2 separate regions of the Homo sapiens genome follow, and region 1 is linked to region 2. The links are contacts of gene promoters, found by promoter capture Hi-C in human tissues and cell types (Jung and others, 2019). All regions are on one chromosome and are shown on one strand. Each heading gives the region's core, a stretch centred on a gene start or on the middle of the fragment in contact. The rest is flanking DNA. Distances are from core to core; before and after follow the strand shown. Region 1 overlaps LRRC63 (leucine rich repeat containing 63). Region 2 holds the start of LRRC63 (leucine rich repeat containing 63).

The links. Contacts are between HindIII fragments. The study calls those that stand out against the background at their distance.
Region 1: a contact is called between a fragment that was not itself captured here and the fragment with the promoter of LRRC63 in region 2, in 1 of the 25 tissues and cell types used here (dorsolateral prefrontal cortex).

The regions. Positions count from the first base shown.
Region 1 is chr13:46,273,424-46,276,431 of GRCh38, reverse strand. All of the region lies in intron 9 of LRRC63 (leucine rich repeat containing 63), which reads right to left. It overlaps LOC105370194 (a long non-coding RNA gene), which reads left to right. Exons shown (of 3, transcript XR_941946.4): 3 at 1-1,731. Among named protein-coding and RNA genes, the nearest start is that of LINC00563, 23 kb to the left of the region's middle. The HindIII fragment of the contact is 5,403 bases long and covers 1-3,008 here.
Region 2 is chr13:46,210,603-46,213,577 of GRCh38, reverse strand. It overlaps LRRC63 (leucine rich repeat containing 63), which reads right to left and starts at 1,650. Exons shown (of 10, transcript NM_001282460.2): 1 at 1,319-1,650; 2 at 459-576. The coding sequence starts at 543. It overlaps LOC107984578 (a long non-coding RNA gene), which reads left to right and starts at 1,726. Exons shown (of 4, transcript XR_001749863.3): 1 at 1,726-2,975. RefSeq lists a silencer at 1,565-1,894. The HindIII fragment of the contact is 9,677 bases long and covers 1-2,975 here.

The DNA.
Region 1 (3,008 bases), core at 428-2,927, 63 kb before region 2:
AGCTGAACAATAAAGTAGGTATATGTATAATACAATCCTAGCTTTTTAAAACAGAAAGGTATATATGCATAACAAGAAAAAACTCTAATGATAGATCCCAAATTGAAAATAGTTATTATTCTTGGGAAATGTGATCACAGGGGTTTTATGTTTCTTTATAATGTGTTTCTTTATTTTCTAATTTTTTATAATAAACATGTTATTTTTTATGATACAAAATAAATATATCATTTAAAAAAATAAAGGTACTATCATAACCTAGTATGGAATTAGAGTCCATAATGTATTTTTAAATGGTTAGAAATCAGTTAAAAAATATTAATCCATTAGTACATTAACATTAGTACAGGAATAGACTATTCACAGAAGAAGAAAAAATGAATGTCAAGAGAACACAGGTAAAGCTTTTCAATCTCCCTAGTAATCGGGGAATACAAAACAAAATAGCAAAGAAATACCATTTCACAATCATCAGATTATAAGAATATGTTTAAGTATTTAAACAAACTATAAAACCACTGGAAGAAAACACAGTGGAAATGTTTCAGGACATTGACCTAGGCAAAGATTTTATGGCTAAGACTTGAAAAGCATAAGCAACAAAAATAAAAATAGACAAATGGGACTAATCTCGAATTAAAAACCTACTGCACTGCAGAGGAAAAATCAACAGAATCAACAGCCTACAGAATGGGAGTAAATATTTGCAAAGTATTCATCTGACAAGGCACTAATGAATATATGATGAACTTAATTCAACAGCAAAAAAAAAAAATCTGATTTTAAAATGATCAAAGAATAGATATTCTCAAAACAAGACATATAAATTGGCCAATAAGTATATGAAAAAATGCTCAACATCACTAATATTTAGGGAAATGCAAATCAAAACCATAATAAGATATCTTACTCTAGTGAGAATGGCTATTATAAAAAAGACAAAAAGTAAAAAATGCTGGTAAAGACGCAGAAAAGAAGCAACTCTTACACAGTTTCAGTGGTAAATGTAAATTAGTACAGCCATCAGAATGGAGGATGGCGGTTTCTCAAAAAACTAAAAATAAGGCTATCATACTATCCAGCAATCTCATTACTGGGTATTTATCCAAAGCAAAGGAGATCAGTATATTGAAGGGACAGCTGCACCCCCATATTTATTGCAGCTCTATTCACAATCGCCAAGATATGGAGTTGACCTAAATGTTTATCAACAGATGAATGGATAAAGAAAATATGGTATGTACACACAATGGAATACTATTCAGCTATAAAAGGAATAAAATCTTGTCATTTGTGGCAACAGGGATGATCCTAGAGGACACTATGTTAAGTGAAATAAGTCAGGCACAGAACGGCACTCATGTGGAAACTAAAAACAAATTGAGCTCATGGAAGTAGAGAGTAGAATTGTGGTTATTAGAGGCTGGGAAGGGTAAGAGGAAGAGGAGGATAGGAGAGGTTAAAAATGGAAAAAAAATCACAGGTAGATAGGAGTTTTAGTGTTCTATAGCACTGTAGGTGAATATAGTTAACAATAATTTATTGTGTATTTTCAAAAAGCTAGAAGATTTTAAATGTTCACAACACAAAGAAATGATAAATAAGGTGATGGATATACTAAGCTGATTTTATCATTACATACTATATACATGTATTGAAATATCACCCTGTATGTTACAAATATGTATAATTATGTGCCAACTAAAAATAAAAGAAAAAAATAAAAACAAACAAAAATTTCTATCATTCTTATGCTCAAGGAAGTCAAGGTAAAAATCTGTGGAACATGAGTCTTCTGACCCCATTCTCAATGGAAGTGGATTCTCTGTCTGAGGTGATACAATGTGGGTAGAGAGACAGAGAGAGGCAGACAGCAATGATAAGTTGTACAGGACAGAAAAGACATACATAGCTGCTAATTGACAGGGCAGCCATTGGAGTGACAGCAGTAGCTGAGCTTAGAGTGACTTTAGTGCAAGCCTACAGCTGAGCTGCAATCCAAAGAACTCAGCGAAAGTAGGACAGTACCGAAATTTTCAGTAGCTAGCAATTCAGGATTAAAGCCAAGGGCAGACACTGGAGGATGACAGTGGTTGGGTGACAAATCCCTCCCTCACTGTTCTTATTTTTACTAATGTCACAGTCATCTTTGATGAGATTGAACCCTTTGTCATTTTTCATCCTCCCTCTCTCACTCGGCTCACATACCTAGGTATGTTAATTTTACCTCCATAATTTGTCTTGCATTTCCTGCCTGTTCATACCCATACTTATTACTTTGGATCAATCCCTCCTTACCTGTTATGGACATGAGTGTTTTAACTGACCTCCACCCAGCCTTCCCCTGCACTAGTCTATCTGTGACATACTGCCAGGTCTATTTGTGCTATTTGGACTCAGTGACTCTCAAGGCCTGAAGAAAAAAACTTCCAATGCATTCAGTGATCTCCAATGGACAACTAGCTAACTCCATTTATTTCTTTTTAGCTCACTTCTTGGTACTTTTTTTTTTTTTTTTTTGAGACAGAGTCTTGCTCTGTCACCCAGGCTGGAGTCCACTGGCATGATCTCAGCTCACTGCAACCTCTGCCTCCTGGGTTCAAGTGATTCTCCTGTCTCAGCCTCCCAAGTAGCTAGGATTACAGGCATGTGCCACCACGCCCAGCTAACTTTTGTAATTTTAGTAGAGACTGGGTTTTGCCATGTTGGCCAGGCTGTTCTTGAACTCCTGACCTCAGGTGATCAGCCTCTTCCACCTCCCAAAGTGTTGAGATTACAGGCGTGAGCCACCATGCCCAGCCACCGCTACTCTTTTTTTTTTTTTTTTTTTAAGGCAGATTCTCACTCTGTTGCCCAGGCTGGAGTGCAGTGGCACAATCTTGGCTCACTGCAACCTCAGGCTCCTGGGTTCAAGTGATTCTCCTGCCTCAGCCTCCTGAGTAGCTGGGACTACAGGTGCCCGCCAGCACGCCCCGCTAATTTTTTGTATTTTTAGTAGAGACAGGGTT
Region 2 (2,975 bases), core at 401-2,900:
AACACTATGCTTGGGGCCCACAGTGAAATCACTAACTAAAAGCACAAACATTCAAGAAACATAGAGCTAAACAGACAGGGAAAACAGTACCCGTTTACAATATGAGAGCTGAAACAAGAAGGTAGAGGTAGCCTTGTTCCACCTCAGCTGGAGGCATGTGTGTTGGGTGACTCATTTTCAGTGCTCTGCACATATCCACGCATGACTGAGAAAGCCCTTTGAGTACCAATTCTGGGGTTACAAGTAAATTTTATCGATGAGATAAACTTGAATCTACTAAGTCCACCAATAAGTATCAGTAAATGCATCTGTGGAATTGAATTGGATGTTATCACCTGACAACAAACATTTGTAAGTTATTAGTGAGTGTATTTATTGTGATTCTGAGCTGTGCAAGTCAAGGAATTTCTATGAAAGATACATAAATGTTAATACACATATCTGATTAATACACATACCTGTATGGGTTTTTTTCTCATGTAAAGACAGCTTAGTGAATTTTGGAGGTAAGGGTCTTCGAAGAAGCAGTGGGGGCTTTTGCATTTTAATGAATAATAAGTGCTGTTTTTCATAATCCTTGGTTTAAATGAGAATTGAAAAGGTTTTGAATATGTTTGAATTGTTGAAAAATAATAAGAATTTAGATTACATCTTAAAGAAAATCATTCTGTACCAATACTCTACTGAATCCAGGCAGAATTCCTTTATGAAAAAAAAAGAGGGTAAGAAAATAATTCTTTAAAACTTCTATTAATAGAAAGAATCCAGTTAAAATGTAGGGTTATAAGTAAACATAGAATTTTAAAAATATGTGTATTATTACTACCCAGGATCATTCTACAATTTTCCATGTTAGTACAAAGTTCAATTTGCCAATGCTATTTCAACTAGTAAATACTGATTTTTCAGAATAGTCGAAATGACATTTTTTTTCTCTCTCTCCAAAATGTTATCGCTATAAATGTAGAAAGAGAATTTGGTCAGAAATGTGTAGAAGATGCCTTCATTAGATAAGCCTCTGAAGACCCACCATATCTAACCATTCACAAACAAATTGTTTTCTTTCTATAATGGCTTGTTTTTCAACCACTATGCTTGGGCCAAAACAATTCAATCCTAAAATAAGATGGGTTTCACTATAATGAGATTTCCCAGGGCTGCTGGATCCCAACTCATACTGTTTAGAAATAATGCGAGAAGATGCACCCCCAAAATGTGCTTTTAGTTTGCAGGGCAACATCAAAAGTGCCTGGCACGGCATTATTCCATTGATAGCCTAGAAGGGAACACCCTGAAACTGCACAAATGGGCCGTTTACCGCCAAAAGATAACTGCACACAAGCGCTCAAGGTGTACTCCCTGGTCATATGTTCCACACGATGCTGGAAATCTCCCTTCCGTAGTACCCAAAGAGGGGCATGGAAGTGCTGGACTCCCACACTACCCTTTAGGATAATCGGCCGCTTTCCAAACCAACTGGCTTTTCGTCTCCTATCTCCTTTTCCTCGGAATCTAGGCAGCGAGGTAAAGGTCCAGCGAGGGTCTTCCTGCAGGAGGCTGTTCCCGAAGAAGCACCACGGATCCCCACCCTCTAGGAGGCCAAGGAGACACACCCTAGCAACCGGGGTCCGCTAAGCCAGCCCAGCCACTTGACGCGCAGGCGCGGGGGCGGGACAGGCGAGGCGGGCGCGGGACAGGCGAGGCGAGGCGGGCGCCGGGAGGGGCAGGCCCAGCCCACGGTGCAGCGCGCGCGGAGCCCTCGCCTTCCTCCGACGCACTGTGGGGCTGCAGGGGAAGCTGCGGGCCGTGGGGGCCGGAGGAGAAGCCGGCTCCACGCGCAGCTGCTGTACGGAACGCCGTGGTGACAATTGTTATTACTATTTTTATGCTTAATGGCAATGACCACTATTATTTATTATTTTCTCTCGATTACAGGATGCTTTACTTGGGTGTCTAGAATATGGGCTGGCATTCTTTAAGGCTGCACTTTTGTGCAGCCGGGTCCCGGGGCTAATTTTGCAGTGCTCTCGAAAAGCGGGCATTCGGTTTTCTTTCTCTTCCTTTCATGCAACCTGTTTTCTCTTTCTGATCCTTTAAAGTTCCTGGCTGAGGCTGGATTGTGTAGAAATAAGGGCATTAGGGATCCAAGCGGGCCATAAAAGAAACCCATTTCTCACTGTCATCGTCCTCTGTTCTGGTTATCATATTGTGACGTGTCGCCTCTGTCATGGTGTTGATGAACCTGTGTGTGCAGTCATAGATACATCGTGTGTGTTTGCAAAAATGTGCGTGTTTCTCTGGAGATTTGAGGGGGAAAGAGCACTAGAAAGAGCTCATCTGATAGATGCGGAAATCCGAACTCAGAAAGTAAACTAGGTAGAGCTTCCTTCCAGGTTTGGTTTTTTCTAAGTACTAGCGCAGGAACTTTATAACAGAAGTTGGAAAATGAGAGACTTCTGTATAAATCTTTCTAGCTTTGGGGATCTTTCAAGATTCACACCATAACCATGTCTTCCTTTTTCTCCTTAGTAGCAAACATGTTTTAAAACAATCAATGAAAAAAGTAGAAAAGTTTTAACAAAAAAGTAATCAGACTCTGGAAAATATTATGCAACTTGTTTTCCTTTACAGTAGTAGTGTACTGTTTCTTTTCCTTGTAAGTTTACTGTGTCCCAATTATACTGCTGCCCCAGACTATGAATTTATTTCCACTTTTGCTGTTATCTACACCATAGATTCATTAGTTTCTCAGAAATACAAAGCTGAAAATAAAAGGCAGCTCTGTGGCTAAGATTAGTCTCAAGTAATATATATCGTGCATATTTTGTAAATGTGAAAAAAGGTTTATATTTTTAAGCATAAAAAATGACAGTGTAAATTGAGTCAGGTACCTATGCTCTTCAAGATCGTTGGAACCATGAGAACTACAGGAATTCAGTTTTACTGACTGACGTTTGGCCTTTAAAATTTATGCT